7 separate regions of the Homo sapiens genome follow, and regions 2, 3, 4, 5, 6 and 7 are each linked to region 1. The links are contacts of gene promoters, found by promoter capture Hi-C in blood cells and fetal thymus (Javierre and others, 2016). All regions are on one chromosome and are shown on one strand. The core of a region is centred on a gene start or on the middle of the fragment in contact, and the rest is flanking DNA. Distances in the headings are between cores, read along the strand shown.

Evidence for each region. Contacts are between HindIII fragments. The CHiCAGO score rates a contact against its expected background, and 5 or more counts as called.
Region 2: a contact is called between a fragment that was not itself captured here and the fragment with the promoter of FXYD3 in region 1, in 4 of 17 cell types (total B cells, naive B cells, naive CD8 T cells and 1 more). The highest score is 7.7, in total B cells.
Region 3: the fragment with the promoter of GAPDHS here is called in contact with the fragment with the promoter of FXYD3 in region 1 in 2 of 17 cell types (naive CD4 T cells and monocytes); the score reaches 5.8 in naive CD4 T cells.
Region 4: a fragment that was not itself captured here is called in contact with the fragment with the promoter of FXYD3 in region 1 in 5 of 17 cell types (naive CD8 T cells, total B cells, total CD8 T cells and 2 more); the score reaches 8.0 in naive CD8 T cells.
Region 5: a fragment that was not itself captured here is called in contact with the fragment with the promoter of FXYD3 in region 1 in 1 of 17 cell types (total B cells); the score reaches 5.3 in total B cells.
Region 6: a fragment that was not itself captured here is called in contact with the fragment with the promoter of FXYD3 in region 1 in 8 of 17 cell types (total B cells, naive B cells, total CD8 T cells and 5 more); the score reaches 9.9 in total B cells.
Region 7: a fragment that was not itself captured here is called in contact with the fragment with the promoter of FXYD3 in region 1 in 5 of 17 cell types (naive B cells, total B cells, total CD4 T cells and 2 more); the score reaches 11.0 in naive B cells.

The regions. Positions count from the first base shown.
Region 1 is chr19:35,113,824-35,117,388 of GRCh38, forward strand. It overlaps FXYD3 (FXYD domain containing ion transport regulator 3), which reads left to right and starts at 2,000. Exons shown (of 9, transcript NM_005971.4): 1 at 2,000-2,136; 2 at 2,441-2,536. The HindIII fragment of the contact is 1,620 bases long and covers 1,008-2,627 here.
Region 2 is chr19:35,554,045-35,557,945 of GRCh38, forward strand. It overlaps ATP4A (ATPase H+/K+ transporting subunit alpha), which reads right to left. Exons shown (of 22, transcript NM_000704.3): 11 at 3,611-3,803; 12 at 2,869-3,044; 13 at 1,632-1,768; 14 at 1,396-1,546; 15 at 1,122-1,290; 16 at 878-1,032. Among named protein-coding and RNA genes, the nearest start is that of ATP4A, 7.7 kb to the right of the region's middle. RefSeq lists an enhancer at 3,892-3,901. The HindIII fragment of the contact is 254 bases long and covers 2,013-2,266 here.
Region 3 is chr19:35,531,289-35,535,058 of GRCh38, forward strand. GAPDHS (glyceraldehyde-3-phosphate dehydrogenase, spermatogenic) reads left to right here and starts at 2,168. Exons shown (of 11, transcript NM_014364.5): 1 at 2,168-2,306. The coding sequence starts at 2,240. RefSeq lists an enhancer at 3,025-3,154. The HindIII fragment of the contact is 5,250 bases long and covers 1-3,770 here.
Region 4 is chr19:35,591,844-35,595,393 of GRCh38, forward strand. No RefSeq gene overlaps it. Among named protein-coding and RNA genes, the nearest start is that of LINC01766, 4.3 kb to the right of the region's middle. The HindIII fragment of the contact is 9,877 bases long and covers 1-3,550 here.
Region 5 is chr19:35,429,323-35,432,972 of GRCh38, forward strand. It overlaps LOC101927522 (a long non-coding RNA gene), which reads right to left. Exons shown (of 7, transcript NR_187751.1): 3 at 3,537-3,650; 4 at 342-513. Among named protein-coding and RNA genes, the nearest start is that of FFAR2, 17 kb to the right of the region's middle. RefSeq lists an enhancer at 3,572-3,650. The HindIII fragment of the contact is 1,119 bases long and covers 950-2,068 here.
Region 6 is chr19:35,485,615-35,489,350 of GRCh38, forward strand. KRTDAP (keratinocyte differentiation associated protein) reads right to left here. Exons shown (of 6, transcript NM_207392.3): 2 at 3,188-3,226; 3 at 3,048-3,089; 4 at 2,827-2,871; 5 at 2,098-2,145; 6 at 1,710-1,852. The coding sequence ends at 1,814. Among named protein-coding and RNA genes, the nearest start is that of KRTDAP, 3.0 kb to the right of the region's middle. The HindIII fragment of the contact is 2,590 bases long and covers 75-2,664 here.
Region 7 is chr19:35,444,360-35,448,365 of GRCh38, forward strand. FFAR2 (free fatty acid receptor 2) reads left to right here and starts at 3,898. Exons shown (of 2, transcript NM_001370087.1): 1 at 3,898-4,006. RefSeq lists an enhancer at 1,855-1,934. The HindIII fragment of the contact is 2,407 bases long and covers 1,554-3,960 here.

The DNA of each region.
Region 1 (3,565 bases), core at 750-3,249:
AAATGATTCCAAAAGCAAAACGAGAGAAACTTTTTCAAATATGTTTATTATGTATATTATATACAATATATTAATAAAACATATTACCTACATGCATTTAAAACATAACTGAAGTCAGATTGGCCCAGAAGACTCACTCCAAATGAGACCTAATCCCCAATAGGGTGCAAGTGACTGCACAAACTCTACTCCTCACAGCCCTTCCTAAGACTCAGTGTGCTCATCACACTAGGGTCTCAGAGTCCTTCTGACCATAAACCCAAGCCCCAGCGCCAGCCCAACACACACTTGGACGCAGCATGTTCACGTCCAGCCTAGGAAGAATTTATGGTTGACCTGGATTGGGTAAAAACCGTAAACGTCTGTACCTCAGAATGTAAGATCATGGTGTTTAAAACTACAGAACATTCAGAGGTTGTCAGAAGTCTCTAATTGCTGGTCCCCCAGGTTGAAACCAGCCCTTAGGTTGAAATTTTGACCTGCAAATTTTTTTTTAAATCTGAACCAAATTTTTTAAATTAAACCCCTTTAAGGTAGTACATTTTCAAGATGCAAAATTCAAAAAATATAAGAGGGCACGTGATAATGAGTGAGTCTCACTTCCACCCCACCCTCCAGCCTCCCAGTTTCCCTCTCCAGAAGCCATGGGTATGGATGCCAATCTCCAAAAATATTTTATTCATTACAAGTATATACATATGCATTATTTTACCGCTCACAAATGGTAGCACACTGCACGGTTTCCCAATACCTTGTTTTTTTTCCCCTTAGCAAGCTGTCTGGGAAATACTTCTGTATCTAACCACGGGCAGGGGTGTTCCTCCAAGATTTTTAGACAACAGTTCTCCAGTTCACCCCGTTCCGGTGAAGGGCAGAGCACCCCCCGCCCTTCCCAGCCACCCTGTACACGCCCCTACTCGCTCTCGGATGCCTGCAGTTCCCAGGCTTCCCAGCAGAGGGAGACACCATTCCACTCCCAAGACCACCAAGGGGTCGTCCCAGACACAAGCTTCAAGGGTCTAGGGAAGAGACGCTATCCGCCCAGACACAAAGACCCCCCTTAGCTATACTGAGTTGGCCTCCGGGCCTCCCCTTCCTGTTTCTATCTCCTCCTGGACCTGTTGCTTAGAGCCCTACCCCGAGGTCCCCCCGCCCGGCTTCCTTATGGGAACTGGCCCCGCCTTAAGAGTGGTAGGAGGGAGCCTTACCCTTGTCTAGGACCTGGGCTTGACAACTTGCCCCAGGGAACCACATAGAGAAGGGGTGTAGCGCTGGGCGAACATTGCCCTCCCCGATCCCTCAGCGATGACAAGTGGGGGGTCCTTCTCTCTGCCCCCAGCAGGCCAGTTTCCGGAAGAGCCTTGACCCAAACCCCCTTTTCCTGTCCTGTGCTCCACACTCCCAGCAGCTGCTTCTCCCTGGCCAGGCCCTGCAGCCCTCCTCCCCGCCCCCACGGTGGTGTTGGGGTCGCCTGGAGTCCAGCTGGTGTCCAGGGCAGAGCTACCCCTTTCCTGGCCCTACCCCTCCCCGTGACCCCAATCCTCCGCCAACCGCTCAAAGGATCCTTGTTCTCCATCCAGCCCCCAGACAAAAGTCCCTCTGTCTAAGAAGGCGGAATTGAGGGGAGGGGGCACCCCCAACTGGGACCATGGGGGAGCCTGCACAGACCCCATCCGGAAGGAATGCCTGGAGGAGGAGGAGCAGGAGACAGGGGAGGAAAGGGGGAGGGAGGCTTGTACAGTGCTGGGGGCCTTATGTGGACTAGGAGGCAGCCGCCCCCACCAGCACCCACTCTGTAGACCCAGGCGTCTGGCTCCCAGCACCCACGGAAAGAGCCTGGCTAGGAAACTGCAGCCTGGTGCCTGGCAGACAGTTCTCATTCTCCCCAGGGCAGGGAGCAGGTTATGACCAGGACTAAGGTCCCAGAGTCCCCACCCTGACCCCTCCCTGCTGTTCCAGCCGCTCCCTCATATCCACCCCTGCCCCATCTCCTGACTTTGGTCACGCTAGCATCTTCTGCTGATCCTGAAATTGTACCAGCGGCAAGATGTGGCCTGGAAGGGGACTTTAAGTTCTCCACAACTGCCAGCAATCCTTCCACCAGGCAAAACACATCATCTAAGGAAAAGAAGTGAGGTCGGAACACCAACGCATCATCTCACTGCATGGCCCTGGAGGCTCTGCCGTTTAAAGACCCCAGAACCTTCCCCATTCAAGGTCCTCTCCTGGGCACAGGAGATTGGAGAAAGCTCCTCCCTTAATTCCAGGGGCCGAGTTCCAGCCCATCCAATTCTCCGTCTCACCTGAGGCTGCTGTGGTCCTGGTGACCCCAGGGAGCAACCTGCCGCCCATGGCTGGGGAGGGGGTGAAGCTGTCTCTTTAAGAGCAGGAATGGAGCCCCTGGGCCTCAGGGCATCTGACTTGTTTTCTACCTGCCCAGGTTTGCTTAGGGCGTGGCAGCTTCGGATAAACGCAGGACTCCGCCTGGCAGCCCGATTTCTCCCGGAACCTCTGCTCAGCCTGGTGAACCACACAGGTGAGCAGCTGGGGCCCCTTCCTCCAAGCCCTCCTTGTCTCTGCCCCTAAATTAGGAAGTATCTACCTGCCCCCTGACCCTGCCCCATAGAAGCTTTTATGTTAAAGCGCCTAAAATCTTGTGAAATGCTTTTCTGGAGCCAGGAGATAAACGGAAGTCCCTTCCCCTAATGTCCCTTTCCCCACCATTCTCCTCTCAGGGACTTGTTGAACCAGCTGAGGTGAGGGCAGGACTGATAAGTGTGGTTGGGGTGTCTGAAAGACTAGTGTCTGCATGGATTAGGGATATCTGGGTTGGGGATAGCTGGGTGGAGGAGAGGGGGTGCCTGGGTAGGTAGGGGTATCTAAGTGGACCAGGGGTGCGTAGATGGACTGGGGACATCTGGGTGGATGAGGAATGCTGGGTGGACTCGGGGTGTCCAGACATTGAGGGATCTGGGTGGATAAGGAGTGCTGGGTGGACTCGGGGTGTCCAGACATTGAGGGATCTGGATTCTGGAGACCTCCAGGAAAAAAGGATGGAGCTGCTGGGGGAAGCTTTAAATGGGGAGTTGCTTGGGAGATTTCAGGAGCACACAGCGGGCAGGATCTTTCTACCCACCCCTGAACATGAGACCATTCTCCCATGGTATGGAGGAATAGAGGGGATAGCAGAGGGCAGGTGGGGGAAACAGTCCTCAGGCCGGCCTTGGGACCTCATGGCCAGGAAGGATGAGAGCAGGTAGACAGAGCATCAGCTGCAGGGCTGCCTTCCTCTCTAACCTGCTCACCAACCACATCAGTTCGGGAGCAGCCCACAGCCTCTTCAGACAACAGCCTGAATGGGGAACGTGAGGGCAGACCCAGCTCCCGGCTCCCTGCAGCCTCCGGAAGCATGGGACTGGACGTTGTTTTGCAGAGGCTGGGGCGAGGAGGATACCATCTGTCAGTCTTGGCTGGATGACATCATGGGAAGGGGGTATAGTGGGGCCTTGCAGGCCAGAGGTGGCTTGGAGGAGCCCCTGGAAAGAGGCTTAAGAGGTGAGACTCA
Region 2 (3,901 bases), core at 890-3,389, 440 kb after region 1:
TTTTATCTTCTCCCTCTGTCTCCCTCCCTCTCTTTCTCTGTTCCTCACTCTGTTTCTCTGTCCCTGTCTCCAGTGTAATTCTCTGTGACTGTATCTGCTCTTGTGTATTTCTGTGTCACTCCCTATCTCTGTGTATCTTCAGTCTCTCAGTGTCGCCGTGCCCCTTCATCTGCTTGTGCCTAGAGTGGCAGCAGAGCATACTGACCACGACCACAGGCTGTGGGACCTGTGACTGCTCAAGCTCAAGTCACAGCCGGGCCACTTATTTGCCCAGTGACCTGGGACAATCCACTCTACCTGTCTATGCCTTGATGAGCTCATCAGTAAAGTACGGGTGATAGTAACAAAACTCATCTCATAGTGTGGTTATGAGTACAAAATTAAGGAAATGATGGTGTGTCTGGCCCAGAGAAAGCACTGTGTAAATGTTACCGAATAAATACCTGTCAACACAGCTGCGCCTCTGGCTGCATTCGTGACTGTATCTGTGGTTCTTTTCTGTCTGTCTGCCATGGGGTCTATCTGAGGGGGTTTATTTGTCCGTGTCTGTTTAGGGGCACGTGTCTGTGATTCAAGTTTGGCCAGATACCTGTTCTGTTTCCATCTCTGTCTGAGTATCTGTATCTGAGTCATGTGTGTGCATGGGTCGGCCCGGGCCTACCTGAGTGTCCGCCTGTGTGTGCATGGCTGTATGTCCATTTAGGTCTGTTCACCTGCCTGCCACCCATGTGTCCTGCACTGGCTGTCATTGCACACACAGGTCTTGTCTGTCACTCTGTGCCCAAGAGTGTCTGTGGTGGTCTCTGTCCCTCCTGTCCATCTGCAAGCAAGTGTCTCTGGGCACCCTGTGGATGGGTACCCTGGGCTGTGGACTTACAATGTCAGTGCAGAGTTCGATGAAGAGGATGGTGATGCACCCGAGGGGCAGGGGCACGCTGACGGTGATGTAGATGAGGTAGGGTGTCAGCTCTGGGATGTTCTTGGTCAATGTGTAGGCAATAGACTTCTTCAGGTTGTCGAAGATCAGTCGACCTGTGGGGTAGGGTGGGCACCTCAGCCTCCTCACAGCCCTCTCCCTCCTGTGCCCACACTGCCTGCCCTCCCCCTGGCGTGGCTCGGACCCTGCTCCACGCCTGTCACAATGGAGGCAAAGTTGTCATCCAGCAGGATCATGTCAGCTGCATTTTTGGCAGCATCTGAGCCAGCGATGCCCATGGCTACTCCGATGTCTGCCTTCTTCAGAGCTGGGGAGTCATTCACACCATCCCCCGTGACGGCCACAATCGCACCCTGCAGGCAGTGGGTGCAGGTGGTGGGTGGGTGGTCAGTGAGAGGCCGGTCCAAGACCAGCCCCGCCTGTCTGCCCGCCTGCCCACCCTCATCAGCAGGGCTCACCAGCCGCTGGCAGCTCTCCACGATCACCAGCTTCTGCTGGGGGCTGGTGCGCGCAAACACCATCTCGGGGTGGGTGCGCAGGGCCTCGACCAGTTCCGATGGGTCCATGTCCTTCAGCTGCATGCCATTGATCACACAGGCACGGGCATCCCTGGGGAGGAGATGGGAGGACCTCGCTGGGACCTCGGTCTGTGCCAGATGTGGGGAGAACCCCGGGGAGGTCTGGGGGGGCTTACTTGCGATTAACCTGGTCTACGGGCACACGGAGGCGGGCAGCGATGTCCTCCACTGTCTCGCTGCCTTCCGAGATGATGCCCACACTGGCTGCAATGGCCTTGGCGGTGATGGGGTGGTCACCCGTTACCATGATCACCTGTAGGGGGAACCAGTGGATCACTGACCCCTTCAGATCAGCCCAATCTCCCTGTCCTCCCTGGGAGACATCTGCTGATACACGTGTTCATTTACTTGACCAAGCGTGACCACCTCCTACGTGCCTGGGATATAGCAGAGACAAAAGAGACAAAAATCCCTGTCCTTGAGGAGCTCTAGTGAGGGTGACAGAAAATAAAGAAACGAATTATATAGTGTGTTAGAAAGTGGAAAAAAACATATTAAGCTTGGTGAAGGAAACGGTGACTCGATTTTAAGTGTACCCAGGGAAGGGCTTATTGAGAAGGTGATATCTGAGCAGAGACCTGTAAGAGGTGAGAGAGTCAGCCACGTGGAAAGCTGGGAGAAGAGTGCTCCTGGCAGGGAGAACAGCAGGTGCAAAGGCCCTGAGGTGAGGACAGGCCCGAACTGTCGGAGGAACAGCAGGGAGGACACCATAACTGCAGAGGAGTGAACAAGGAAAGAGGGCTAACGAACAAGCTTAGAAAGGTAACAAGGCCCGATGTAACAGGGCCGTAGAGACACGGGAAGGGCTTGGGCATTGCCTGCCTGGCCTTGGCTTTCCCACCCTTGTTTTGTGTTTGGGGAACCACTCCTCTCCCCTACACCATCAGTTGCAGTGAGGTCCCTGGCTAAGATTGGGTAAGTAAGCCCAGACCTGGCCAATCAAGGTCTTCCATCCCCCAGCCCCAGTGACTGGCTCAGGGATAAATGAGTGACCCAATCCAGTGCTACTGCAAAAGAGGCACTCTCTTTTTGTGGGGTGGCTAAGCAGGTGGGAGTTAAGTTTGAGCTGCTGGAGCAGGGGTGTGTGTGTCCCCAAGTGAAGGGAGTGCCTGCAAATAAAGCCAGCAAAGAGAACAGCAGAGCTGAGACATGGAGAAAGGAAAATTCCTAATGACACTGAGCTCCTGGATCTGGCTAGACCTGAAGCTTAATTCCCCAGAATTTTTCAGTATCATAAACCAATGCATTTTGGTTCAAGCCAGTTTCAGGTGGGTTTGTCATGGGGTTCTTCAACCCAAATCCTGCTGCCATCCTCTGTCCTCACTCCACTTGTTCCTCCCCACAGTGGCATACCCGGATGCCTGCGGTGCGACACTTGAGCACAGCATCAGGGACGGTGGCCCGGGGTGGGTCAATCATGGATACAAGTCCCGCAAAGCAGAGGCCGCTAGATGGAAAGTTCATGGCCTCTACGTCGAAGGCATAGCCAGGCGGGTAGTCCTTCTCATTCAGGTAGAGCTGGCAGAAGCCTGACCGGAAACGGGGAAGTCAGGGAAGAGCCCTGGGCACACCCTTTCTTAGCAGGGCCAGGAAATGGGTAAAATAACCAGGCCCCTTGCACCAAACACCTATGGATGCCTGACCTTGTGCTGACCCCTTCACTCACATTATCTGAATCTACCCTCACAACCACCCTGTGAGGCCCATTCTCATCTTACAGATGAGGAAACTGAGGCTCAGAGAGGGGACATTTCTTGCCAGAGGTCACACAGCAAGTAAAAGGCCCAGAATTGGACCACAGATCTGCTTTCTAGGGTAGAGGCAGCGAAGTTTAAGGCGTCAGGACAAAAATTGGGAGAGGTTAGAGGTCAGGATACGGATAAAAGTCCAGGTGAGGACTGGGGTCAAGGTAGAAAGTGAGGACAGACAGGGGTCAGGACTGGTACAGGGAAAGTCAAGGGTGAGGCTGTGGACTGCGACAAATCAGCCAGCAGCCAGGGATGAGGACGGTCAGGGCTGGGCCGGGAGTGGTGGGCAGGGTCTGTGCTAGCTCCTCCTCGCACCTGGAGTCTCCTCCCCTGCCCAGGGGTCTCACCGAGCACGCGTTCGCCCAGGCCTCCCAGGCTGAGGTAGGCGGTCTGGAAGGCCTCGCGCCACTGCTCGTCCAGCGGCAGCTCCTGGCCCTTGATAAGGATGGAGCTGCAGCGCTCCAGCACGCGCTCGGGGGCGCCCTTCATCACCAGCAAGTGTCGCGGGTCCCGCGGGTCCTCCAGCGTATGGATGGACAGCTGTGGGCGGGGGGGAGAGGCGAGGCTGTGGACGGGGGAACGGGGCGGGGCTGTGGACGAGGGAACGGGGCGGGGCTGAGGAGAGGGGCGGGGCCGAG
Region 3 (3,770 bases), core at 918-3,417, 420 kb after region 1:
GCTTGGCAAATGAATTTCTCATGGATGTTGGCGGAAGGAAGAGGTTATGTCATTCTGCCCCTTCTTGCATCCATCCCTCTCTGGGATGGTGACTCCTTCCTGGCACAAACCCCCACTCCCCCTGAACCTTGGTCACAGCTGCGTGTCAACCTGCTGTGCAGGTGATGGTGCCTGCCTGTGAGTCACTGAGGTGCAAGCAAACCCCTACCCCGGGGCTGCAGGGGAGGGAGCTGTTTGTCCACTTGTTCTTTGTCAGACGTTCATTGAAAACCTGCTTTGTATTGTTCTAAGTGCTGGAGGCACAGTCGTGAACAAACAAACAAGAACAGGAGCCCTGTGAGGGGCTTAGAGCCCAAGGGGGAGACATCGAACAAATAAACCAATCAGTAGATCATGACAAACTACATGAAAAGCTACAAGGAAAAGAATGGGTGCTGCGAGAAGATATAACGTGAAGAGTTTGATAAGATTGGCGATCAGGGCCGGGCGAGGTGGTTCACGCCTGTAATCCCACCACTTTGGGAGGCCGAGGCAGATGGATCACCTGAGGTCAGGAGTTTGAGATCAGCCTGGCCAACATGGTGAAACCCCGTCTCTACTAAAAATACAAAAACAAAAAAAAAATTAGCTAGGTGTAGTGGCGCACGCCTGTAGTCCCAGCTACTCAGGAGGCTGAGGCGGGAGAATCACTTGAACCCAGGAGGCGGAGGTTGCGGTGAGCTGAGATCGCACCATTGCACTCCAGCCTAGGCAACAAGAGCGAAACTCTGTCTCAAAAAAAAGAAAAGAAAAGAAAAGATTAGCGATCAGATGAAACCTGAGGAATTGACATTTATTCATTCAGGTATAGTTTATTGGGCTAACGCCTTTTTCAGACAGGGTCTTGCTCTGTCTCCCAGCTGGAGTGCAGTGACACAATCACAGCTCACTGCAGCCTTGACCTCCTAGGCTCAAGTGATCCTCCCACCTCAGCCTCCCTAATAATTGGGACAACAGGCATGCACCACCACACCTGGCTACTTTTTTTATTTTTTGTAGATACAGGGTTTTGCCACATTGCCCATGTTGGTCTCAAACTCCTGGACTCAAATGATCCTCCCACCTCAGCCTCCCAAAGTGTTGGGATTACAGGCATGAGCCACTGCGTCCAGCCCACAAACACCTTTCAGGTGCCAAACACTTTTCTTGTCAATGGGATACAGAAGTGACATAGATGACGTCCCTGTCCTCTCAGAGCTTACAGTCTGGTGGACAGAGACAGTTGGCAAGAAAACAAACAATTTTTAGAGAGACATGTGCTCTAAGGAAAATAAAAACATAGACAGTGTAGCCCTAGAGAAATTTTGCACACTGAAGCATAACTCAGAATGGAGAAGTCAGACAAGGCTTCCTGGAAGATGGGCAGAAATTGGGAAGGGGGTGACGGCTGACAGTGACAGAGAAAGGAGGGAACTTAGATGCAGAGTGTAGAAAGCCTCTCTTAAAGGGTGGGAAACCAAGAGGCAGCCAAGGGAAGCCCTGGGTGGGCCTTCCAGGCATACGGAGGCAGCAAGAGTCACTCCACTGGAGAATCCAAGGGACAGCATGGAACCTGTGTGCTTCAAGAGACAGAGAAGAGGAAAGGGCTTTCAGGAACAGTGTAAAAGGTGGGATTCCAGGCTGGGTGTGGTGGCTCGCTCCTGTAATCCCAGCATTTTGGAAGGCCGAGGTGGGAGGATCGCTTGAGCCCAAGGGTTCTAGACCAGCCTGAGCAAAAGAGTGAGACCCTCTCTCTACAAAAAAATAAAAAGTAAAAATAGCCTGCAGTGGTGGCTGCACATGTAGTCCCAGCTACTCAGGAGGCCGAGGCGGGAGGATCGCTTGAGCCCAGGAGTTCAAGGCTGCAGTGAGCCATGATTGCACCACTGCACTCCAGCCTAGGAGAAAGAGTGACACCCCGTCTCAAAATAAATAAACAAATGATAATTTTAAAAAGTGGGATTCCATTCCAGACGGCAGTGCGTGGCCGTGGAACGGTGATGCATAGCGTGCTGACGTCCCATGCCTCTACGGGGATGGGATGCGATGGTGTCAGGCCTCTGGCTTGGGCGCCGCCCCTCGGCGACGTCACTGGGTACTGTGACGTCACTGGGTGCTGTGACATCAGGGCAATTAGCCCAGGACCCACAGCCCTGGCGCTCCGCACGCACCTCGGTAACATCACAGCAGGTCCAGGCCAATGATAACCTTATAAGAGGCCATGTCGAAGCGCGACATCGTCCTCACCAATGTCACCGTTGTCCAGTTGCTGCGACAGCCGTGCCCGGGTGAGGGAGGCAGCGGAGGGCGCGGGGGAGGGGTGGAAAGGGTAGTGGGGAGCGTCTGCACCCTCACACCTGTGCCGTATCCCTACCGCCCTTCCTGGCGTGTGCACCATCTAGGGACCAGGGGATCAGCCGCTCTCCCTCCCTCCACACCCGCCAGTGTGCTGGCAGAGTGGGGTTTACTGCCATGGCGGGGAGACCGGGCCTCCGCCCCCAGGGCTGGGTGGGCTTCGCGCCGCTATCACGCGGTAGAAAGAGCAGAAACGAGGGCCATCGGAGGCTGCAGCCTGAAAGTGGCGGGAAGTGGGCGGGCTTAGGAGGGGCTTAGGGAGAACCCAGGGGTGCTGGGCTTCCATGTAAAAGTGATGTTCATGGCGCTTCGCGTGAGGTGAGCTTTGCCCTCCCTGTGATGCACAAAACAAGGACACTTGGAACCTTGCCGGGGACGTGCTGACCACTTCGCAGGCGAGAGCTCAGGGAAGCCTCACCACCACCTGAGAAGGCCAGAGTGTGCCCGCAGTTTACAGAGCGGCCAACAGAGGTTAAGAGAGGGCAAACTACTTCCTTAGTCTCTCAACAAGGGCGGCGCGCCCGCGCGCGCGCACACACACACACACACACTCACTCACTCACTCTAGCCGGAGGAACCAGGTCTTCCGGTGGGCTGCCTCCATTCCCACACTGTTCCCTCACTTCCCAAGGGCGGGGGCCGCAGGGGTAGGTGGGGCTGGGGCTTTGGTCCAGGAGACCCTGGAAGACACAGGAGCAGACAGGCTTACCAGCCTCATGAGACTTGAACCCCTGCCCTGCGCATCACTGCTCCGTGGCCTCAGGCTTCATTTTCCCCTCTGTAAAGTGGGTTTATAGCGCATGCCTCTCGGGATTCAGTGGGAGGACGCAGTGAGGAGCTGGGGGCAGCACCCAGCTAGCCCCCAGGCTTTTCTCCAACCGGGGGACCCCACCCCTACAGTGGAGGGGAAGAGAGTGCAAGGCTGGGAGTGCTGGGAGAGGAGGACCATCTGAGTTTTCTTCGGAAGGGTCACCCATTGGGCTCAGATTCCCACCTGAACCAGGTGGACAAATCCCCTTTCTCCCATAGCAGAAACAACCCCCAAGGATGCAAACATCCTCAAGTTCACCAATAAACACTAACACCTTCATGAACTTGGACAGCCACTGGAAACACCTATAGTCCAGCCTCAGGCCACAAGGTCTGTGGCAACAGGGAGAGGTCAGGGAGACAGACAGGCCAGCTGGCCCCCGGCTCCCAGCCCCACCACCCCCCAGGTGCCTTTGATTTGGTGCCAAAAACTTGGACTCCCACTACCCCCTTCCAGCCCTTCTCCACCCCCTGCTGTCTCCCTTTCCTCAGGAATCTGTGTAGGATCAGACTTCCCTCCTCTATTAAAATCAGCTCCTATGTGTGGGCCTCGAGATCTCACTGCGCCCTCACAGCAGCCCCTAGGT
Region 4 (3,550 bases), core at 223-2,722, 480 kb after region 1:
CCTCATGCCTGTAATCCTAGTACTTTGGGAGGCTGAGGCGGGTGGATCACCTGAGGTCAGGAGTTCGAGACCAGCCTGGCCAATATGGTGAAACCCCCATCTCTACTAATAATACAAAAATTAGCTGGGCATGGTGGCACACAACTGTAATCCCAGCTGCTCGGGAGGCTGAGGCAGGAGAATCACTTGAACCCGGGAAGCGGAGGTTGCAGTAAGCCAAGATCACGCCATTGCACTGCAGCCTGGGTGACAAGAGCGAAACTCCATCTCCAAAAAAAAAAAAAAAAGTTGGAGTGAACATGCCTGCAAAATCTTCTGGGCCTGTAATCTTTTTCGTGTAGCAGATTTTGAGTACTTTGTCTTCACTATGATGGTGAAAGCAGCAACTCTCGGAGTCAAGTACAAGCCACTGTTATGAGCAGCTTCGGAGTATTGATTCTTTTGGTCTCCACACTAACCCTATAGCCTGCATTCTTACAGACTGAGGATAAAGCACAGGGAGCTGGAAAGACACAGTGCAGGTCTCACAGCGAATTCACTGAGGGGCCAGGATTGGGAACCAGGAAATCTGCCACCAAAAGCCGTGTTCTTAAGCACTAGGTGGACAACACTGCCTCCCATCGACCGTTAGTAGCAATTCAATCTTTTTACCTGCTGGAGTCACTTGTTAATCACTTACCTTTCTCTTAACAAATCATTTTTATTTTCGACATAGAAGCTAACTTGAAGGAGCGCCCACTGGCCCAGAGTGGTACAACTTAAACATCAAAAATATTAATAACGGCCAGGCGCGGTGGCTCACTCCTGTAATCCCAGGACTTTGGGAGGCTGAGGCAGGTAAATCAATTGAGGTCAGGAGTTCGAGACCAGCCCGGCCAACATGGTGAAACCTCGTCTCTACTAAAAATATAAAAATTAGCCAGCCGTGGTGACAGTCACCTGTAATCCCAGCTACTCGGGAGGCTGATGCAGGAGAATCGCTTAGAGCTCGGGAGTCGGAGGTTGTAGTGAGCCGAGATGGCGCCATTGCACTCCAGCCTGGGCAACAAGAGCAAAACTCCGTCTCAAATAATAATAATAATAATAATAGTAATAACAATAATAGATTTAAACACACCAAATATATATCATATTTAATGATGAAGGATGGAATACTTTCCCTATAAGATCAACAACAAGGAAAGGATGTCTGCTCTTGACACTCCTATTTGACATAGTGCTGGAAGTTCTAGTCACTGCAAGAAAAAAACGCAAACAGGGCCCGGCGCAGTGGCTGACGTCTGTAATCCTAACACTTTGGGAGGCAGGAGGATCACTTGAGACTAGGATGTCAAGACCAGCCTAGGCAACACAGCATGACCCCATCTCTACAAAAAATATTAAAAAATTAGCCAAGCATGGTGGCACATGCCTGTAGTCCTACCTGCTCAGGGGGCTGAGGCAGGGAGATCACTTGAGCCCAGGACTTTGAGACTGCAGTGAGCTATGATCACACCAACACTGCACTCCAGCCTGAGGAATAGAGTGAGACTCTGTCTCAAAAAAGAAAAAAAGGCATTTAGATTGGAAAGGAAGAAATAAAACTGTATCTGCAGGTGACATGAGATATGTGTGTGTGTGTGTGTCTGTGTGTGTAGTTGATGCAAAAATAATTGCGGTTTTTGCCATTGAAAGGAATGACTGCTGGGCATGGTGGCTCACGCCTGTAATCCCAGCACTTTGGGAGGGTTTTTTTTTTTTTTTTTTTTTTTGAGATGGAGTCTCACTCTGTCACCCAAGCTGGAGTGCAGTGGTGTGGTCTCGGCTCACTGCCAGCTCCGCCTCCCGGGTTCACGCCATTCTCCTGTCTCAGCCTCCCGAGTAGCCGGGACTACAGGCACCCGCCACCACGCCCAGCTAAATTTTTGTATTTTTAGTAGAGACGGGGTTTCACCTTGTTAGCCAGGATGGGCTCGATCTCCTGACCTCGGGATCTGCCCTCCTCAACCTCCCAAAGTGCTGGGATTACAGGCATGAGCCACCGTGCCTGGCGTTTTTCTTTTCGTTTTTTTTTTTTCTTTTTTTTTTTTTTTTGGAGATAGAGTCTCACTCTGTCACCCAGGCTGGAGTGCAGTGGTGTGATCTTGGCTCACTGCAACTTCCACCTCCTGGGTTCAAGCGATTCTCCTGCCTCAGTCTCCCTAGTAGCTGGGATTACAGGCGCCCACCACCATGCCCAGCTAATTTTTGTATTTTTAGTAGAGACGGGGTCTCACCATGTTGGCCAGGCTGGTCTTGAACTCCTGACCTTAGGTGATCCACCTACCTCAGCCTCTCAAAGTGCTGGGATTACAGGCGTGAGCCACAGCCCTGGACGGATGTATTTTCAATACATGTCTTTATAATGCATGTGAAAGCTAACGCATACATGGGAGACAATGAAGGGACCAATATGGTGGAAGTTTTCCATATTCCACTTGAAGTTGCAAAATATTCAATCTAGGTAGACTATAGAATGTTTAAGTGTGTTTACCATAATCCGTAGAGCAATCACTTAAAACTTGCAAAGATATATAGTGAAAATCACAATAAATAAATTAAAATGGAGTACTAAAATAGTATTTGAATAATCCAAAAGAAAGAAGGAAAAGGGAAAACAAGGAACAAAACACAGAAAAGTGGAAATAAAAAACAAATAATAGTAGACCTAAAGCAAAACATACCAATAATCATATTTAAGGCACATGATCTAAACACACAAGTTATAAAATATTTTCATAATGCACTTAAAAAAAAAATAGCCAGAGCCGGGCGCGTTGGCTCACACCTGTAATCCCAGCACTTTGGGAGGCCAAGGCAGGCAGATCACGAGGTCAGGAGACCATCGTGGCCAACAAGGTGAAACCCTGTCTCTACTAAAAATACAAAAATTAGCTGGGCGTGGTGGCGGATGCCTGCAATCCCAGCTACTAGGGAGGCTGAGGCAGGAGAATCGCTTGAACCAGGGAGTCAGAGGTTGCAGTGAGCCGAGATCGCACCACTGCACTCCAGCCTGGCGACAGAGGGAGACTCCATCTCAAAAAAAAAAAATAGCCAGGTTCAAAGGCTCATGCCTGTAATATCAGCACTTCGGGAAGCCGAGGTGGGTGGATCACTTGAGCCCAGGAGTTTGAGATCAGCCTGGAAAACATGGTGAAACTCCGTCTCTACTAAAAATACAAAGAAGTTAGCTGGGTGTGGTGGCACACGCCTATAGTCCCAGCTACTTGGGAGACTGAGGCAGGAGGATAACCTGAGCCCAGGAAGTCGAGGCTGCAGTGAGCCATCATCACATCACTGCACTCCAGCCTGGGTGACAGAGTGAGGCCCTGTCTCAAATAAATACATACATAAATAACTTGAGCCCAGGAGTTCAAGATCAGCCTGGGCAACATAGTGAGACCCCATCTCTGCAAAAAATTTCAAAATTAACCTGGCATGGTGGCTTGCACCTGTAGCCCCAGCTACTCAGAAGTTTGGGGCAGGAGGTTGTTTGAGCCCAGGAGGTCAAGGCTGCAGTGAGCCGTGTTCA
Region 5 (3,650 bases), core at 259-2,758, 320 kb after region 1:
CCAGTAGTCTAACCTCAAAACCTGCGTGTTTAGCTCCTACATGCGTTCCCACATGGGTTATGGACAGCTCTACTAATGGAAGAGGGCGCTGGACTGGGGTGGAATTGTGAAAGAACTAGCGACGTGGAGAGAGGCTTGAAGCTCAGCCTAAATAAATGTTGGGGACAGCCCCCACTGACAGCTGGACTTGGCCCGCCATCTTCCCTTCTTGGTACCTCTCAATCTTTCGTAAAAATAAACCAAAAGCTGACGTTCACCACTTCATGCCATGCAAACAACTGTTTTTGGTTTTGTTCTTCAAATATAAAATAACATGAAACATGCTTTGTCAATGTACTTACCCCCATCCCATCCCACACTCTCTCTTCCCAAATACCCGCATCACCCTCCACTCTTCAGAGATACTAGACGGGGTGGCTCAGCAGGGCTGGGAACAAACACTGGCCAATGTAAAGGCTTCTGAATACTCCGCAGCACTGGAGAGTCTGTCTTCAGCACGATCCCCTGTTAACCCTAGGAAAGATGTGCACGTGACAGGGGCGGGGTGCGTCATGGAAGCCTGACGTTCCTCATGCCAGATCAGACGGGAAGGCTGTAAAAGGGGGAAGGTGAGGCCAGCTGGCAGAAAGCAGGAGGAACGCAGCCTTGCTCCAGGTTCGTACTCCCATACCTGAAACGCCTCCTCCTTCTCCCGCCTACCCAGGCTGAACACCTGGAGAGGGGCAGGGTAGGAATGCCCCCTAGGTGACCAGAGTGGAGAGGAGGACACTGAAGGGGTCTAAGGATCACGAGACCGCGTGTGGCTTGACTTATTCGCCAAGTGGAGATTCCTCGATCATCCTCAGAGCCTGTGGTCCCTTCCATCTAGTCAAGAATGGGCAGGAGGCCAGGCGAGACAAAACTCAAGGGGAAAGCCGTACTCATTTTTATCAACATCTCCTTGCCAGGAAGCTTGTGGTATTCACTCAAATCCAGGACATGATAAACATTTACAGAAAATAATAAAAGCAGATGATGTGAGGACAGTCAAGAGACGCAAAGTACACTTATGCTCCCCCTCCTCATCTAGAAAGTGGGTCTGCATGGAGTGTAACAGCAGAATCTGACATAGCTGACTCCACCCTGCTTCTAACCTCACAAGCTAATGGTCTTTGTCATTCCTGCACATCAGCCAAGCTAATCATGGGAAGAATTTAGTTTACAGTTTAACTTTAAAGCAAGGATGACAATAATCCCTTCCCAACACTCACCCCCAAGGAGATAAGGAGGGTGTACACACTAGCAGCTACATCATATTAAAGATTTATAGGAACATTGTGACCTCAGCAGGACAAAGAAGTTGCACAGTGCCCCTCCTCGGACACTCACTGCCACCCAGATGTCCGCTATCATCGGTCACCTCTTGATCTTAAACCTCACTCTCTTCCCCCTTCCCTAATGTAAAAGGAGCCCAAAATTCTATTACTTAAGATTGTTCTCAAGACACTAGGTCTGCTATCTCCTCAGTCTGCTGGCTCTCTGAAATAATGTCATTTTTCCTTCCCCCAATATCTCGTCTCTTGATTTATTGGCTGTTGTGCAGAGATTGGTATGAGCTTTGGATTCAACTGCAGGAGGACGGTGAAGCCAGAAGAGATAGAGAGAGAGAGAGAAAGAGAAATGAGCAGCTGCTGAATCATGAGGGCTTCCCTAATGGCAGGGAAAGAAGAAAGTTTTGACAGACAGTGGGGCAAGACACTTGCACAAAACAGGAAGCCAGAGGAATCCTTAAAACCCACACATCATACAAAAATAAAGAAAGAAAATAAAACATGATAAAAGAAATGAAACCCATACATCAGATCACTTACTCCTCTGCCTTATACCCTTCAAGAGTTTCCTATGACTTTGGGAATAAAATCCAAATCCTCACCTTGGACAACAGGGCCCTGCACCATGTGTTTTCCCTCCACCCCCTCCACCCCCAGCTGTCACGTCTCTGACCTGGTTTCCCATCACTTCCCTCATGCTCATTCCCACCCCACCCCCCCAGCCACACTGGCCTCCTTTCGGTTTCTCCATCACACCAAGCTTCGTATCGCCTCAGGGCCTTTGCAAAAAATGTCCCATCTGCCCCGAGTGTTCCTCTCCCAGCTCTTCCATGGAGAGCACCTACAGGCCTCGGCTCAAATGTCACCCCTTCAAGGACATTTCCCTGCTGCCCCCAGCACAGATTACCCTATTCTATCATCCAATTCTATTTCCTTCCGAAAGCGTGCCCCACATTACCTCCTATATTACTGTAGAGACTGTACTAGTGTCTCACCCCTCCCCACAACTACAATGTCAATTTCATGAAGGCAAGAACCATGTCTGCCTTTAAAAAAAAAAAAAATCAGGGTCTCACTCTGTCCCACAGGCTAGAGTGCAGTGGCACAATCTAGGCTCACTGCAGCTTTGATCTCCTGGGCTCAAGTGATCCTCTGACCTCAGCTTCCTGAGTAGCTGGAACTAAAGGCATGCACTACCACATCTGGCTAATTTTTGTATTTTTTTGTAGAGATCAGGTGTCACCATGTTACCCAGGCTGGTCTTGAACTCCTGAGCTCAAGCAATCCACCTGCCTTGGTCTCCCACCAAGTGCTGGGATCATAGGCATGAGCCAACACACCCAGCCACAATGCCTGTCTTGTGATGCTCTATCCCCAACCATCCATGGAGAGATGAAAATGCATGATCTGGTTGTTACCTTGCACTCAGCTGCCTAATCCAAGAGACATGCAGGTGACTTTGAGAAGGCTGGGGCTGTCCTGGGCCCACAGAATTCAGACAGAAGACACTGGGGAAAGGAGAGGAGGTGGGACAGGGACCAGACACAGAGCACTGGAAAGGAGAGGATGTGCAGGAGCAAGAGCTGAGCCGGATTTTCCAGACGGCGGCAGACTCTGGGGGGCTGCCTGGACTTGGGGCATTTTTTCTGGGCTGGCCCTGGACTTAGAGAATATTTTTGTGATTTAGCGGCCCCAATTTTTGTGAAATGTCCTCTGCTGACTGAGAGATTAACCTGCTTTGACTGGGCCATGCTAAAAAATGAACAGGAATTTGATATAGTCCAGTGTGGAGGTGGAGAGGGAGGGAGGTGAAGAAAGAACAGAAGGAAGGGGTAAGACACACTGAGGAGCAGATGGAAGTTACCTGAGGGGATCCTCCAAAGAAGAAAGGGTGGGCTATGCAAACAGTGGATGTAAAAAGACGCCTGGAAGAAGTTAGGACTTGGATTTCTAGGAGAGATTAATTCGACTTGTAGGAGCAGGGATTTGGGGAGAGGCAGAGGGCTCTGCTGCCTCTGAAAGAGCTCACCGAGTGCGCTCCCTCTCTCTGACTAAGGACCCCTGTGGATAAGAAAGCTCTCTGCCCTAGAGAAGAAGAGCAGTCAAGGTGCTTACAGGCTCTTTCCCGAAGACTGAAGACCTTTCCCAGGGTGGACTGTGGTGCCCTTCCCTGTGCAGGCACCCTGACCACTGTGTGTTCAGAGAAGAGGGATGTGGCACACACACCTGAGAAGCACTGGGACTCCTGCGAGACCAAGTGGGAGGTTGCCACTCCTGGGGACCATCTGATGGGAAGCAGCGGTGAAGAAAAGGGAATGGCGTCTGGATGTGGATGGAGGC
Region 6 (3,736 bases), core at 120-2,619, 370 kb after region 1:
TCCTCGATTAAACTGCAGTTGATGGTTTACAAACGCAGTTGCTTATAAAGGCCAAAGGCAATGTAAACAAGTGAAGCTTGCCAAGTAGAAAGTTCCCTGGAAGCCATGTCCTGTGTAAAGAGGGCAGCTGCTACTTGGCTTTAAGCCAGTCGCAGGTCCACTGTTCTCTAATCTTCCCAGTTTTCAAGAGAAACCAGAAACAATTCCAACTAGTTTAGTATTTTAAGTACACAAATTGGGTCAGAGAAAATACATCTACAGGAAGCAAAACTAAATCCATTTCATGTTTCAAGATCTTTGCAGTGGATGGATGGATGGATGGATGGATGGATGGATGGATGGATGGATGGATGGATGGGTGGGTGGATGGGTGGATGGGTGGGTGGATGGCTGGGTGGATGGATGGATGCGCGAGTGAATGAGTGAATCTGGATCATTGCGGCTGCTCTCTGGTTGAAACTGGGGGAGTAGAGATACACTATCTACTATATGCCTGGCCGTGTGCAAGGGGCTTTATATACTTATGTCATTTGACCTTCATAACAACACCACAGAGTGGTTATCATTCTTATTTATCTCCATACTCATTTCACGGATAAAGAAACAGAGGCTTAGGAAGACTCAAGGTCACGCTGCTAGTTTTCTTTATTTAGAGCCCACCTAATTCCAAAAAAAAAAAGGATTTCAGATGGGCTCATGTGATTGAAGCTGGGTCCTGAACTTTGGATTTCAGATAGCTCTGTTACACAAAATCGCCACTACAAAGGGAATCAGGTTTTCAGAAGGTAGGTAAGGGGGAATGCCAACAGGTCAGGGAGTAGGTTTGATTTGTGAAAGGAAAATAAAAACTTGGGACCCCAATTCACTCTGTCGAAAGGAAAAAAGATAAGCCGAAAGCTGAGACATGCCAGAAGCTGCCTTTCCTTTTGTTCCTAAACAGATAGCTACAGGTAAAAGGTTAACTATCTCAACAGATAGCTATTCTATGTTCACCATATCTTATGTAAACTGCTGGATTTACTGAGCATGAGACAAATATATAATGGACTATTCCCCTACCTGCTCCTTTTCTCTTATAACATGTGGATTCAGTGATGTGACCATTCCCTCCCTCTTTCCCCGCTTTTCCCCTTTAAATACTGAAGCTCTCAAAATCATCTTTGGAGAAAGGCACAGACCACAGACTGTTCCTCTGATTCTGTATTTTTTTCTCCCCGGCATTGTCCTTAACCTTGGCAAAATAAACTTCTCAATTGATTGAGACCTGTCTCAGATACTTTTTGGGTTACAAATTGGCAACCCGTGAATGGCCTCTGAATGGAGGTGGCCCTGACCTCTGACAAATCTATCGTTGCTTGGTACTGGTTTGAGCTGTCTTTATTGCTCAAACCAACAGGACAGTTTTCTGGGTCCAGGAGCTCCCCCTTAAGAGAATGAGACCTGTCTCAGATACCTTTTGGTTTAGAGATTCCCTGAGCATCTTACTAAGCAAGTCATAGCTTCATGCTCCTCAAGGATCCCAGCCAACACTAAGGAGCTAAGACACAAGGGGGTCTCTTGCCATCTTGGTGTGTCCTTTCTATTTCCTCCTGTCTCCCTACTTACTCTCCTCTTGGAAGTCAAGATTTCTACCTATCAGCCTTGGGGCTCATTCCATCTTAATTCCTTTGTAAAGCCCAGTAGGAGGACAGAGACGCAGATACAGGAGCTGTTGGATGGAAAATGTTTTATTGGAGTTCCTGAGGCAGGAAAGAGTTATGGTAGGTTGAGAATCAGCGCTCACGCTAGCCCCCTCTTCCAGTGGAGGTCATGGTCACTGGGCATCAGGAGTTGCGCTCCTCAGTCCTTTCAGCTAGAGGGAGAGGGGTCAGGGTTAGATGGGGAACCCGTGGGTGCCCAGTATAGGATGGCATGGATGGAAAGGAATTTCTGCCTCGGTGTGAGTTCCCGTTCTCCTCTATATGTAGTAGCTAAGACCTCCCTTCAGTTTGGTGAGAAGGCTGATCCTCCTTTCCCTGTCCCCACTCTCTCTCCCATATCTTCTGCTTCTTCCCTTACCCCCAAGCTCCATACCCTCCTAATGCCCACACCTCTTACCTTAGGAAAGGCATCCCAGTTGAGGAAAGGAAGTTTCCTTTTGATAGACTAAAAGAAAGAAAGAGAAAGAGAGTGATGTGTTGCAGGTCAGCCGGGCATGGATGGGTAAGCATTCCCTTAATGAACTCCCACAGTAACCATAGTAACAATAATGTCATTATTTTGTCATTACTTTATCAAGAGCTAATATTTCCTGAGGCCTTAGTCTGTGTCTGCCTTGCACGGGCTGCTCTACAAGCATGATTTCAGTGGGTTTTTACAGCAACCTTTTGTGGTGGGAATTGTCATCATCCCCACATCACAGAGGAAGCGGAGGCCGAGGGAGCTGAAGGCGTTCGCATGAGGCCATGTGAGAAGTCAGTGCAGAGTCAGGAGACGCGGGCCCCAGCTCTGTCGCTGACTTTGCCTTCTAAGTGCGGGTGGGCCTCAGTTTTTCCATAGAGGATGAGGGGATTCAAATAAAATCTTGACCGATTAGCCTCTTCCTCTTCTGCAATTGTCCTTGGGGCCCTGCTCCTCCACCACCATCTTAGGAAAACACGGGTAGCCAGGACTGGCGCCGGGGGAAGCTTTCTTCCGTTGACAGCCCATTGGGCAGCATCCAGGCAGGACAGTCACTCCCTCCCAGAGATCAGGAACCAACCCATACATTTAAAGCCAAAATGTGTGGCCACTACCCTGGGATGACTGCAGACAACCGAGGAGGGCAAGGGGCGCCGGAGCACTCACCTCAAAGAGGGCGTGCCAGTTCAGGAACTCATCAGCCTTAAACGCCTGAGGAGGAAGAGAGACAGCAGAAGCAGGTCAGCTCCAGGGGAGGCCAGAGCTTAGCCCCCAGCCCTCTGGAGAAGGTGAAGGAACCGTGGCAGCTTTGCAAGCTCTCTACCAAGGCGTTTATCCCCTCTGTGATGAGGGTATTCGTGGGGGTAGCACCAGAGAAGCGTACTCACAGATCGCAATTTGTCGATGTTCAGGAACGGGGTGTTAAAGGCCTAGGCAGAAACGCAGGGTGTTAGGAAAGTTGCTAAGAAGCAAAAAGAGAGAGAGGACAGACTCGTGGCTGGAGGGCCGGGGAAAACAGACGGCTTACCTCGGGTCGTGACGCATAATTCTCAATGGTGCTTTCTTCCTGGAAAAGGAGAGGGAGAAAAGGCGGCAGGGGGTCACGTGATGCCAGGGCCCTTGCCCACATCCCTGTCTGCCAGCTCTGCCTTCATCCACAGCCCAGTCCCCGAAAGAACGCAACCCATTCCCCACCATGGTCTCCGTTCCAGTCGCGCACATGGTTGGCGGATGTGCAGGGTGAGGAGGGGGAATTGGAGAATGGTACATGTAAGCAGTGTCACCATGGGCAGCAGGCAGAAAGCCTGGAGCCGAGCATTCCTCTCCGGAAAAGCTAGCTAGTGCTGTCCTGCAGTTGACTTAAGTCTAAGAGGTGGGGTGTTCTGGAGACACCCACGCTCAGTCCGTATAGCTGGATGGGAAAGATTTGCGAGCAGGTGGGAGCCCAGCTGCTGAGGTGACCCGCCTGCCTCTCACTGATCGAGGTTGCTTTGCTTTGTGGATTTATTGCCACCACTGTTGGAGGTTCCATAATCCCCCTCCATGGGGACCCCACCCCAGGCCTCAGTGTGTCCCA
Region 7 (4,006 bases), core at 1,507-4,006, 330 kb after region 1:
AATACTATTCAGCAATAGAAAAGATGCTTAACCTGTAAGAGGGGAATCGAAATCTAGGAGGTCAGGGCCTTTTTTTTTTTTTTTTTTTTTTTTGAGACAGAGTCTTGCTCTGTCGCCCAGGCTGGAATGCAGTGGCGCAATCTTGGCTCACTGCAACCTCCGCCTCCTGGGTTCAAGTGATTCTCCTGCTTCAGCCTCCTGACTAGCTGGGATTACAGGCGTGCGCCACTATCCCGGCTAATTTTTGTATATTTAGTAGAGACGGGATTTCGCCATGTTGGCCAGGCTGGTCTCGAACTCCTTACCTCAGGTAATCCACCTGCCTCGGCCTCCCAAAGTGCTGGGATTACAGGTGTGAACCACTGTGCCCAGCCAGACAGGGATTTCTTAAGGAAGTAAATGGTTATCTGAAAGAAAGCTACAAATTAACTGTGAAAGTTGGAATGGGTAACAAGAAATAAAGACATACCAGGCAGGGGCTGGTTCAAGCTCCCCATGGCAGATGGAAAACATGACACATTCACAGAAGTGGAAAATGGCCCTGCCCAGACAGCAAAGAGAGAGAAGAGTGATGTGAGTGGAAGCTGGCAAGGGCCATGCTAGGCAGGCCTTTTTAAGGATGTTGATATTTCTCCTAAAAGCAGTGAGAAGTCTCTGAAAGGACAAGAAGGTCGTATAATTGGATTGACATTTTTAAAATGATTCCACTAATACAGTATGGAGAACTGACTGCCAGGGAAGCAGATGGATGAGAGGAAGTGAGTCAGGGCCCTGCTGAAATCCTGGTAGGGATGATGGCACTGAGATGGGATGATGGAGATGGAGACGGATGGATGGATTCATATTTGGAATCCATAAGTATTTGGGGAGTACATCAGACTGCATTCTAGGGATAAGGAAGAAGATAATATTGAGATTCACTTTAAGACTGACTCTAGTCAGGCTCAGTGGCTCACGCCTATAATCCCAGCACTTTGGGAGGCCAAGGCGGGCGAATCACTTGAGGTCAGGAGTTCGAGACCAGCCTGACCAACATGGTGAAACCCCGTTTCTACTAAAAATACAAAAATTAGCCGAGTGTGGTGGCACATGCCTGTAATCCCAGCTACTCGGGAGGCTGAGGCATGAGAATTGCTTGAATCTGGGAGGCAGAGGTGGCAGTGAGCCGAGACTATGTGCCACTGCACTCCAGCCTGGGCGACAGAGTGAGATTCAGTCTCGAAATTAAAAAGAAAAAAAAAAAAGACTGACTCTAAGATAATGGTGCAGGAGATGTGATGGGAAGAGATCTTACGCCCCAAGACAGGGAAGGGTGGAAGAAGGAAGATCTGAGGCCAGGTCTGGACACATTTGATTTGGTTGATTTGGGACACCTGTGAGACACCCAATGGCAGTGTCAACTAGGCAGTTGAGCGTGTACATGTGAAGCTCACAGAAACCTAGGGTGAAGATTCAAACCAGGGGTGTCATGAAGGTGGTAACTGGAACTACGGAAACAGTTGCAGTCGACTAGAAGGAGAGCACAGGCGAGAACAGGAAAGAACCTGGAGCCAAGCTTGAAGGAAGTCACCATTTCGGGGATGAGTAGGGGAATGGTGAGCTAGCAAAGGGGTACGAGAAGTGACCAAAGGAAAGAGAGGGAAGCTAGCAGCGTAACGTATCAGAATTTGTGAAAAGAGGATGTTTCCAGAAGGGCGTGGAAATTGTGTTGAATGCTAATAAAATAAGAAAAGCGTAAGTCCACTGAATTTAGGAACATGGAGGTCACTGCTAACATCGGGAAGAGAAAATCCCATGGAAAATAGGCACAGAACCCAGATTAGGGTGGACTGAGGGGCGAGTGAGAATTAAGAATGTGGAAGTGATTACACAGAACTTTAGATAAGGGTCCAACTTCCTGTGATGACAGGCTGCATTATAAAGACGATGAGAGAAAACTGAACTTGGAAGGAACTGTGAAGGATATTGCTCTTGTGAAAGTTTACCCCCTTGAACTCGGTCTGAGAGGTTGGGTTTCCTTTTCCTGTGACGTAGGTGGACATCATGAACTGTGAGACTGAAAGCCTCCTTGGTGATGCTCCCTTCATAACTGCGGTGAACATTCATAACTGCTGTGAACCCAGAGAGGGGGTTTCGTTGGGGCGTCTTCCACAGGGGGACTCACGACAGTGACGGCGAAAGGCAGGAGGTGGGGGGAGAAGAACGTGCAGAGACAGAGAGGCAGTCCCACTCCTCAACACTTGTTTTCCAATGAGTTTCCTGGATTCTGCAATTAAATCCAGATCCTCGTGCATGTTTATAGGAAATCATAAAAGCGAAATGACACAAATAAATTTGGTGGCAACAAGAGAGAATGGTCTCTTTCTTAGTTCTCCTGTTGATCTGAGAAGCGACGTGTGCTGGGGGAAGGAAATAAAGAACTAGAACGCCTTCAGAGGAGAGTAGAGTGGACGAGAAAGAAAAGCTAAATATCAAAATGTCTAGACCCTGGGGTTACAGACCACAAAAAGAATAAATGACTGACTGACTGAATGACTGAATGAATGGCAAACAATAGGAAGTAGGTATGTCCTAGGGAAAGAATGGGGATTCTGTGAGCAGGAATCAGGCCACAGATGGCAGAACAGAGACTTCTTTCTGAGACTTCCTCCCTAGTTCAAGAGGAAAACACGTTCCAACGATCCTTGCTGCATTAGGTGTGTATTTCAAAGGGACCTTCAGGAGCTCCTAACCTGGGGCTACCAAGGTCAGAGAGGGGGAAACAGTGAGACTTTATCAGGGAAAGGAATGGAGCCTGAGTGCCACTCCCTGACGAAAAGCCACATGGGCACGTGAACTCGGGCCTCCTGAATTCCTGACACTTTCCCAAGAGGGACAGCACATCCATGCCCTGAGCCTCTGGAGGCTGCACCAAGTGGCTCACTCTCTGTGAAGCTGCGTTACAGGCTTGAGACGAGGCAGCACTTACGGGCATCTGCTAAGTGCTTTATATACACAACCTCACTGAATCCTCGCAGAAGTCCTAGGATGTCAGAATTCGCATGCTCACTTGACTACAGCAAACTAGACTTCAGAAAACGGATCTGCCCCCAAGGTTGTAATGAAGGGACCTGGATTTGAGCCCATATCTGCATGACTATAACTCCCACACCATTTCCATCACAACAAGATGCAGGCCAGGACCAGCCTGTTTCAGCTGAGACGGGCAAAAGAAATGTGTTGGGGGCAGAGGGCAGGAGACCATAGAGAAAGTAAAAAAATTGAAGAAGAAAAGGAAGGAGTGCCGGGTGCAGTGGCTCACGCCTGTAATCGCAGCACTTTGGGAGGCCAAGGCAGGCGGATCACTTGAGGTCAGGAGTGCAAGACCAGCCAACATGGTGAAACCCTGTCTCTACTAAAAATACAGAAATTAGCTGGGCGTGGTGGCAGGTGCCTGTCATCCCAGGGAGGCTGACGCAGGAGAATCGCTTGGACTCGGGAGGCAGAGGTTGCAGTGAGCTGAGATGGCGCCACTGCACTCCAGCCTAGACAACAGAGCAAGATTCAGCCTCGAAAAAAAAAACCAAAAAAAAAGAGGAAAAATAAAAAGGAAGGAGGAAAGCTCATTTCTGAGAATGAGCAGAATGACAGAAGAAACTGCCTAAGAAAGAGAAAAGAAAATAATCTGACTTGGGAAGTAAAAAAAGAAAAATGCCTGGGAATTTTTTTTTTAAATCAGGAATTAAGGACAGAAAAATCTGAATTTGGAAGTCAAGAGTGAGGATTCTCTAGGGAGAGAATAAAGATGCTGGGCCTTTCCTTTGGGTTTGAGAGGAAATAGTGCTTAAAGACTGACCTTCCTTTCTCTGGTCACGTGGCTGGTGCTAGTATAAATGCTTACTACCAGCCAGGTTCCTCACCATTTTTTCCTGCATGGCATGGACAGAAGCAGGGGCTAAAGCTCTGTTCCTCTCTCCTGGAAGCTTGCAGACCTCCCTTCAGAACCAATCCCAAGAAGCCACCTATC